2 separate regions of the Homo sapiens genome follow, and region 2 is linked to region 1. Evidence: promoter capture Hi-C in 16 types of primary human blood cells and fetal thymus (Javierre and others, 2016). All regions are on one chromosome and are shown on one strand. Each heading gives the region's core, a stretch centred on a gene start or on the middle of the fragment in contact. The rest is flanking DNA. Distances are from core to core; before and after follow the strand shown.

Region 1 (6,640 bases), core at 2,202-4,701:
ATCACTTCCAAGTATACAGGTAATTTGCATCCTCAGTGTCTTTTTTTTTTTTTTTTTTTACATTTTCCTACATATTTTCACAGGCTAAAATTTTACGGCTATACTCCTTGTGACAGCAGATCCACTGAGGGGGAAGGAAGCAAATGGTAGGCACTGTGGCAGGCTTGCAATAAATGTACTGATTAGAGGCGGGAATGAAATGAAGTACAGTGTGGTGGTGAAGACACTGAAGTCAGACTGCTTGCTATGTGAGCTTAAGCAAGTTATTTAAGTCACTGAGCCTCAGTTTCCCCATCTGTAATGTGATTATAATAACTGCACTTACTTCATAGACTGCTATGATAGACTACTGGGACATTTAACTGAGAAAATGCATGTAAGTGCTCATCCTAATACAAAATAAATGGTTTGTTGCTATTATTTAATTTTTAAACAGCCCTGCCGGTTAGGCATTACCATCCTCATTTCACAGATGAGGCAGTTGTTGCACAGGTGGTACCAGGATTAGAATCCAGAACTGCCCAACCCTGGGGCTCAAACTCTTCCTACCACCTGCCAGCTGAAAAGATCCCCCATGTTTTGTGACTTTCAAAGAATCAAAAGCCCCCTAGGTTTGACTATCTTAGGACAATGAAATCCTGTGTCTTCTAATAGTGATTATGAGATGCAGGGAAGCTCTATCACAAGAGGAGAAGGTGAAATAAACTGGTTACTAAGCTATAATAAGGGCCTCCCCCAGGGCTCCGAAAACAGACTGGAAGACAGGGAGATGGTTGTGGGGGAGGGGAATCAGCAAAAAGGCACAGATTGAGATTCTGGATAGAGCGGCATGTCAAGGAATCAGAAGAGCTGACTGACAGCATAACTGTACGAGCAGTCATTTTTACCACTCCAGGCAATAAAAACATGGAGTGTCTTTGTCATTAGGTTTGAGACTCCTAGCATTTGATAAGCAACTCTTGGAGATACATAATATCTAACAGATTGGAAGCAAAACTGACATTATTCTGCTGTCATTCAAAATAAACATGTACATCACATCCCACAGTCAGGAAAACAAACCTAAAACTTTGTGACCTGAGATTAAAAAAAACAAAAAAACAAACAAAACCCACAAAAAACCGCACACGCTGCTTAGATCTGGTCCCCAAAATAAATCATACCTTGAACATTTCCTATAAATTATCAATGTCTAGAGACAAGGCTTTTGTTAATGAGATAATAAAGTGAGAAAAGCTTTTGGTAGATAAGCTGGTAGAAAAGTTGATGGTAGATAAACACACTAATGTAAACTTGGTACTCTTGGTCATATTGGTTTTTTCCCACTTAAAACACCTGTTATGTTTTTTATTTGGCAAGGCAGTCATCGGGAGCCCTGACTCCTTTACACCCTTTTGTGAGTAAACTTCTTTGCAGTTTTACATATCCTTGTATGAGTTTCCTTTCATGGGAACACATTAAAAGCTTTGATAAGTCCTGCAATAAATAAATTTTAATTTAGCATTTCAAAACTTATCTGGAGGCCCTACAGTCTATGAGGGCATGAACTTTGATTTCACACCTCTGTCACTTGGAAGCTAAATGACCTTAGGCAAGTCGCTTCAATGCTGAGGCTCAGTTTTACGATCTGTGGAAGAGCGCTGGTTGCTGGATTATACACTACAGTACCTAAGAGCCGCAGCACATTGTAAGTCCCCAACAAACATGACTAAACACTTAAACAGAAGTGATCCCTTCTCAACATTCCAACCCAATCTTCATTTATATGGAGCAACATCCTACAGAACACCCCTGTTTGGGAAACAGAATTAAAGCTTTCAAGTCAAGCTATCTCCAGGTATACAAGGAAAAAACCAAGATGATCCTGATTTAGGTCCTTGTGCCTCTACTAAGGTGTAAAATTTTAGGCAAATTTCAAGTCTTTCTGAGCATAAGATTCCTTATTTGTAAAATAAGATACTACAGAGTTGAGATTCAATTATAAAGCATTATTACATAAATGTGTACTGTTTTGTGGACACTTCTTAGATGAGGTACGGGAATAAATGGTAGAATTAAACCATAGAGCGAGGGGAGGAATACAGAGGTTTTTCTAGGAGGCTACAAGCTGCTTTACAGTGCACAATGACCTAGGAATACTTCCTCCAGCAGGAGAAACTTTATACAAATAAAAATACGTAAACACACACAAACCCGTCTTCACAAAACACCTTCTAGTACAAATAACCTAGTAAAAGTCTTTTTATAGACACTAGGTGCAAATTTCTGACAACAGCTTAACATAAGCCACCTGGGCCTTGGATAAATTGAACAGTAAATGTACACTAATGCTAACAGAAAACTTACTACACAGTCACGTCTCAACTATTCATACCAATGAAGAGAAGTAACAACATAGAAAATAAACTGTTTATTACACAAACTCTATAACTGTTTTTAAGCAATGTTTCCCATAAAAATTATTAAATGAAATTTGCATTTTCCAAGCATACAATTCAATTTGCGTTTTCCAAACATACAATTCAATAGGACTAGACTCCATTACCAGTAAGCCACAAGCTGACCAAGCAATGAGGGTGTTACACAACCACACTATTCTATTTCATAGGAGCAGTCGTAGTGTAGCTATCTGGCTATTTTCTACAATAAACCATCCATTACCGTCGCATTTCTCCTCGTAAATGGCTCTCTCAGTAAGATAAATGAGTGTCAACGTCTTTCGGTCTCAGTTTCCTGCACTGTAAAATGGTAATAATAACTACTAAGTTGTCTTACTGTGAAGTCTGATGATAATGAATATAAAGGACTTGGAAATATGCAGGGCGCTTCGCCGATATTCACAATATGCTACCTGTCGTTATTTTCCACACAACAACTTTTACTTGTTAACTCTCTGCAAGTTTAGATTGCATCTGGATTCTCCAAACTTTGAGGCCCTCATAATCGATTAACAAATTACTCCTATGTGGTATCCCCATTTGTAACCGTCCTCTCGGCGTCCCTTTACTCAACTTCAAATCTTTTCCAGTTAAAGCGTAAGCCCCAGAGCCTTCCCGACAGCGCCCCGGCATCCTGCACGGCCCTGGCTAGGACGTCCTTCCTCCCAGCCCACAGGGGCCACGCTTCAAACTCGGGGCGTAGCCCCCCGCGCTGGCCTCGCCCAGCGTCTCGGCCACGCATCCCCCGGATCCCCGGCTGTGGCGGCAGCGCTCGCTCTGCCTCGCAAAGCCCCGCCGCGAACAGCCGAGTAACTTTCCGAGTCCCGCTCTAGCCTCAGGTTCCCGGACCACAGCACTGGCGCGCACCGGCCCCCCTGCGGCCTGGGGGAGCGGCCCGAAGCTCCTGGCTCCAGCGCACTGACCTGCAAGTGATCTGCTTGGTGCTCATGGTGGCTGGGCTGAGGGACCGTCGTCGTGCCGCCGCCTCTCGCAGCCGCTGCCGCCTCGGCCTTGGCCCTGGCCCGGCCCATCCCGCGTAGCCGCGTCACGCCGGCGCACGCCGGCGCACGCCGCCCCTCCGGTGTGGCACCTTTGTAGCGCCGGCGGGTAACCTAGCCGTCGTCACAATTGGTTCCGCACCGGGGATCGGGCCGGCTGTCCCGGCATCCCTGCTCTCGGTGTCCCGCACTTCCAAGCCTCCGGGGCGGAGCCTGGCTGGCATCTTAGTCCTGCCAGTCTTATCCCGATGCCTACTGTTAGTGCCTGCGATTCTGCCCCGATCGCCAAGAGTATTCCTTAGGGATCTCCCGCCTCCTTCGAGGCACTTCACCACTCCTGGGGAAACTCCAGCCTCTCCTCTTAATCCCGGATGCCCCTATCCATTCATACTCGCACTCACTGGGCACCCTTCTCAGGCCCTGCCTCAACTGTTCCCGCCGGACCTCGCCTCCCACTTAAGGAAATTCCTTAGCTCTCTCCCAACTGCTCTTTCCCCAAATCTCTACTTCCACAAGTTTTAGTCTTCATTTTCTTTCCTGCCAGTCTTGTGCTGCTCGTCTTCCATTTCCTATGGTGGAAACCCCAAAAGTTATTTTTGACACTTCCCTCTAGCTCTCTATACCCTGCAGATTCTGCTCCCACACCTCTGTCCAATGCGTCCTCTTCTGCCCCCTTTCCACCGTCCCTTCTACCTAGCACCATGCGATACCTTTTTTTTTAATTATTATTATTTTATTTTTTATTTTTTTGAGACGGAGTTTCTCTCTTGTTGCCCAGGCTGGAGTGCAGTGGGGCGATCTCGGCTCACTGCAACCTCCGCCTCCCGGGTTCAAGCGATTCTCCTGCCTCTCAGCCTTCCACGTAGCTGGAATTACAGGCGTGCACGCCTGGCCAGCCATGCGATAGCCTTTTAACTGGTCTTCTGGCTTCCGTTCCTGGTAAAAATCTATTTTTAAAACATAAATCGGATCATGTCATTCACCTTTTAATCTTACAATGGTTTCTCATTGCTTAAAAACTCGAGATACATAACATGCACAATATAAGTGCACCAAACACATTCTATGAATTTTTGCACATGCATACACTCATGAAACTACCACCCAGATCAAAATAAAGAATTTTTTGTTTTGTTTTGAGGCAGGGTCTTGCTCTGTCGCCCAGGCTGGAGTGCAGTGGCGCCATCATAGTTCAAGCAGTCCTCTGCCTTAACCTCCCCAGCAGCTGGGAATACAGGTGCGCGACACCATGCTCGACTAAACTTCAAAATGCTGGAGTAAGGAGAGGTTGAGCCGGAAGGATCCTTTGAGCATAGTTCACTGCAGTCGAGGCTGCAGGGGGTGGGTGGGGGCTGGATATTATCGACACCCCAGAAGGGCTTCCTTATGGTCCTTCCCAGGCAATACTTTACAAAGGTCATTGCTTGGGTTCATCTCTATCACTATAAATTAGTTTAACTGTTCTTGACTTTCATATAAATAATAATTCAGTACCTACGCTTTTGTCTGCCTTCTTTTGACCAACATTTTATCTGTGAGATCTTTCCATGTTATGTATGTATAGCTGTATGTTCTTTTTTTACTTTGCTATAAAAATATTGAGTCTTCCAATGAATGAGCATGGTATATACTTCCAATTATTTAGAACTTTTGAAATTTTTCTCAGGAATTTGGAAGTATACTGGAAATTTTGTTTTCAGTGTCTTGAATATTGCATTTTAACTCATAACACATTTGATCCATGCAATTCATGCTCATAAAAATTACACGTCTTTTTTTTTTTTTTTTTTGAGACGGAGTCTTGCTCTGTCACCCAGGCTGGAGTGCAGTGGCATGCTCTTGGCTCACTGCAACCTCCACCTCCCGTGTTCAAGCGATTCTCCTGTCTCAGCCTCCGGAGTAGCTGGGATTATACAGGCGCACGCTGCCACGCCCAGCTGATTTTTTGTGTTTTAGTAGCGACGGGGTTTCACCCTGTTGCCCAGGCTGGTCTCGAACTTCTGAGCTCAGGCAATCCACCCGCCTCGGCCTCCCAAAGTGCTGGGATTACGGGCGAGAGCCACCGCGCCCAGCCCATGCCACTTATTTTTAAAATTCAGCTTATCTCATTCTTTATGGAATACATTCACGATCTGAACGTTATTATGTTCAAATATTTTAAAAGCGTAAAGTGAAAAGTCTCAGTCTCCTGTCAATTTAGTTCCCGCCTCTTCAAAACAAAAAGCAGAAACATTTTTTAAAACCTCAAAACCTGGCCACTGTTATCAAATTTGTATACATCTTTCCAGAATTTCTTTAAATATACACAAGTAAATACATATATATTATTTTCTCCTTTTTGTAGAAAAGATAACATAACGTACTGTTCTGCACAGCGTACATAATCAGTGGAGATTTTTCCATATCAGTACATAGAGCCTCTTCCTCCTTTCGTAGAACTGTATAGTATTCCGTTGTACGACTATGCCATAAGTTATTTCATCAGCCTTGTACTGCTGGTGCCCTTTAGGGTGTCTGTGCAAATAAAACACTGGATCGGGCACATGTTCTCAGGATCTCCTGAGGTCTGTGTCATGGGCAATATATATATATATTTTTATATTTCATATATATTTCATATATTTCATATATATTTATGAAAAAATAATACAACACTGGATCAACGACAGCCAGTGTGCACTTCCACAAGCTGTACCCAACAGCTTGGTTCCTGCCACTGTCATGGTACTTAGCACTTAGACTTTTCCCGAAGGATGCAAGCAGTCTCCACTTGGGGTTCTTCCGGCGTTATCTGGCGCTGGGCACTAAACACCAAGTCCTGCCCCACCCGGGACGTGGAACTCACTTTCCTCACCCCCAGGGAACCCGCGCTGGCAGAGAAGGCAGGGCCACTCGCTCCTGCCCGTAGCAGGGGCGCGTAAAACTGCGTCTGCTTGCTAACCACCAGCTCCCGTTCTCGCCCCTTAGGAAAAGCAACTTTGCTACCAAACACTCGGGAGAAAAAGGCTATCAGATAGAAGCGGGTGAAGAAGCTGAGAAAACAGAAGAGAAGGGTGGCTGCCAGCTCGGGACTCAAAATGGCCATCTGGGCGTAGAGACACAGAGACCCTTTGCGCAGACGTGCGCCGAGGGTCTTGCAAAGCTTTCGTTTTCTTTGTGTGCCGACCTGCCCCTAGAAGCGGTTTTCGATGCTATTTTAAATGA
Region 2 (3,462 bases), core at 963-3,462, 2.4 Mb before region 1:
ATCTCAGGTGAAATGTTGAAACGCCCCAGAACCTATAATTTTTGGTTTCTTAGTAAACATACGATCCAGATCTTGTGTAATTCCATGCCCCTCCTCCTCGAAATTTGGAAGTAGTACATGGTAATAGGGATGTGTAAAGCAGCTTTTAGCAGCATTGCTTAAATTTATTTGAAGAAATTGGCCTGTCTTGCTCTTAAACTCTTGGGCTGTAGGTTTTCCTTACATATTTCTCTGTTTTATGTCGTGGTTTTGACTTGCCTGGGAAGGTGCAGGCGCTTATTTATCCTAAATGCCCTGAAGTGTTTAGGCTACAGGCTGTAGATCTTATACTGATTTTTTTTCTTCAGTTTTCTTGCTTATTAAGAATAAATATTGACTCCAGAATGGATGGGTTAACTTTTTTTCCCACACAGTATCCATTTGGGTTTTTATCAGGATGACTCCAACATTTAGTATTTTTTTTTCCATAATCTTATAATATTTCTATTTGGTAAAAAATGTTTTAAACACAGCTATTTCCCCTTCCTCCTTTTTCTGACGTTGCAAAATTGGGAAAAGAGCTAGGTTCGTTTTGTCATGGTAAAGCACAGCTCTTGAAATTGGAAGAGGCCTTAAGGGAATGTGGTCAAATTTTTTTCTTGCAGAAAGATTTTCCGATTTTAGGGGTGAAGTGGGTGAGAACTAGAAAGGTCAAGTGATGTACCTGAGAGGCAAAAGCAATTGCGTTTTTGCATTTTTGAAATTTGCTGTTTGATATTGGAATACATTCTTAAATAAATGTGGATCATTTTAATGCACATTTCTCACTTTATTTTTTTGCTAATGACTTATTGCTGTTTATTTTAGAATATGCTTTTTGTCTAATGATGTTAGATAAAAAGCAAATTTGGAGCAGTTTTCTTATTCGAGTTCAAAATGGTTCATAAAGCAGCGAAGACAACTCAAAACATCAGTAACACATTTGGCCCAGGAACTGCTAACAAACATACAGTGCAGTGGTGGCTTAAGAAGTTTTGCAAGGAAGAGAGCCTTGAAGATGAGGAACGTGATATGGGCCATGGGAAGTTGACAACGACCAATTGAGAGCAATCATTGAACTACATGAAAAATTACAGAAGAACTCAGCGTTGACTATTCTACGGTCATTAGGGTCGTTCAGCATTCGAAGCAAATTGGAAAGGTGAAAAAGCTTGATAAGTGGGTGCCTCATGAGCTGAGCGGAAATCAAAACTATCGTTTTGAAGTGTAGTCTTCTTTTATGCTACGCAACAACAAACCATTTCTCAATCGGATTGTGACATGTAATGAAAAGTGAATTTTATACAACAACCAGCTCAGTGGTTGGACCAAGAGGCAGCTCCAAAGCAGTTCCCAAAGCCAAACTTGCACCAAAAAAAAGGTCATGGTCACTGTTCGGTGGTCTGCTGCCCATCTGATCCACTACAGTTTTCTGAATCCTGGTGAAACCATTACATCTGAGAAGTATGCTCAGCAAATTGGTAAGATGCACCGAAAACTGCAATACCTGCTGCCTGCATTGGTCAACAGAAAGGGCCCAATTCTTCTCCACGACAACACCTGACTGCGTGTCGCACAACCAGTGCTTCAAAAGTTGAAGGAATTGGGCTACAAAGTTTTGCCTCATCCACCATATTCACCTGACCTTTCGCCAACTGACTACCACTTCTGCTAGCATCTTGACAACTTTTTGCAGGGAAAACACTTCAGCATGGTGCAGAAAATGCTTTCCAAGAGTTCGTCAAATCCTGAAGCACGGATTTTTATGCTACAGGAATAAACAAACATTTCTCATTGGCAAAAATGTGTTGATTGTAATGGTTCCTGTTTTGATTAATAGAATATGTTTTAGCGTAGTTACAATGATTTAAAATTCGCAGTCTGGAAATTTAATTTTTGCATCAACCTAATATTTCTATGGTAAATCCTTGCAAACATGGAAACAATGCATTTGGCCCAGTGCTTTGTGGTTGTGTACTCTTTTTCTTTGTTTTTTTAATAGATGGCATTGGCCGGGCATGGTGGCTCATGCCTGTAATCCCAGCATTTTGGGAAGGTGAGGTGGGTGGATCACCTGAGGTCAGGAGTTCAAGACCAGCCTGACTAACATGGTAAAACCCCATCTCTACTAAAAATACAAAAAAATTAGCTAGGCGGGGTGGCGGGCATCTAATTCCAGCTACTTCATGAGGCTGCGACAGGAGAATCATTTGAACTCGGGAGGCAGAGGTTGCAGTGAGCCGAGATCACACCATTGCACTCCAGCCTGGGCGATGAGCGAAACTGTCTCAAAAAAAAAAAAAGTTGGGGTCTCGCTGTGTTGACCAGGCTGGTCTCGAACTCCTGGCCTCAAGTGATCCTCCCATCTTGGCCTCCCAAAGTGTTAGGATTACAGGCGTGAGCCACCACACCCTGCCTGGTTGTGTACTCTTTTAAATACTAAGTTTTTAATGTTAAATGCTGCTTTTAGATACACTGTAAAAATACACCTATCAATGAGTTTTTTTATTAAAAACATTGCAATTGTACTAGACTTTAAATACTAAGCAATAATTCAGGCTTCAATGTTGGTTTATAGTTTTCTCATTTCTTTCATTTAATACCTCTGTAAAATGAAGCAGTTACTTCCATTTTCCTGAGGTGAGATAAGTGCCCTGCACAATGTTATAGGCCCAGTAAGTGAGACTGGAGCTCTGATCTAATCCCTTTGACATTAAAGTTTGTGCAGTAAACCAGCTATGTCAGTTTGCCACATTTGTAATAGTGTTCAATAAATTTTCACTTAAAGGTTTAATATTAAAGTAGTAGCAAGAATTCATAACCTTAATTGGCTTTAACAGCTTTTCTTTCCCTGAAAACAGATGCATATGTACACATGCACACAGATTGCTTACAATATCAGCACGTAAAAGGCCTTTGCACATTGAAGTCGGCACTGCTTTGGTGCCTTTTTTGTTTTTTGGCTCGGTGTTTTGACTGCAAGTCTTTTTGGATAGAATTTTATAGTTAGAAAGTAGCTAACACTTGGGTTTTATAGGCACAAAAAACAAGTCTTATACTAGCTGTACTTTATTTTTTGAGTTCTTATTAATGAGGAACATCCACTTTTGCATTGACAGTGATTTCAAGATTGCTTTATCAGCCTTTAAAGGATTCTTGACTAGTCGTGCACATCAGAACTGCCAGGTCCCCAGTGGTTCTGAAGCAGTAAGCTTTGGGTGGGCTCTGGCATCAGCACTTTCACTAAGCTTCACAGATAATTCTGATGCATACTCCAGGCCTGAACCACTGATCAATTTGAAACATGCATAACAAAGCAAAAAAAGTTTTGTTTCACCTTTTGAAATACAGTTAACTCTTTTACCATGCCAGAGATCATTCAGAGAGACAGGTCGTTGCTCCGGAGTGATACAGATCTGGCAGTACCCAGCCCTTGTGTGTGTG

Evidence for each region. The method cuts DNA at HindIII sites, captures the fragments that hold promoters and counts their contacts. A CHiCAGO score of 5 or more calls a contact.
Region 2: a fragment that was not itself captured here is called in contact with the fragment with the promoter of MKRN2 in region 1 in 1 of 17 cell types (total CD8 T cells); the score reaches 5.0 in total CD8 T cells.

Annotation. Positions count from the first base shown.
Region 1 is chr3:12,553,898-12,560,537 of GRCh38, reverse strand. It overlaps MKRN2 (makorin ring finger protein 2), which reads right to left and starts at 3,451. Exons shown (of 8, transcript NM_014160.5): 1 at 3,362-3,451. The coding sequence starts at 3,387. It also overlaps a transcript of MKRN2OS not described here. RefSeq lists enhancers at 2,732-2,791, 2,701-3,224, 3,612-3,671, 3,722-3,831 and a silencer at 3,352-3,441. The HindIII fragment of the contact is 4,764 bases long and covers 1,817-6,580 here.
Region 2 is chr3:14,943,539-14,947,000 of GRCh38, reverse strand. It overlaps FGD5-AS1 (FGD5 antisense RNA 1), which reads left to right. Exons shown (of 2, transcript NR_046251.1): 2 at 847-3,462. Among named protein-coding and RNA genes, the nearest start is that of NR2C2, 2.3 kb to the left of the region's middle. RefSeq lists an enhancer at 1-267. The HindIII fragment of the contact is 2,041 bases long and covers 1,192-3,232 here.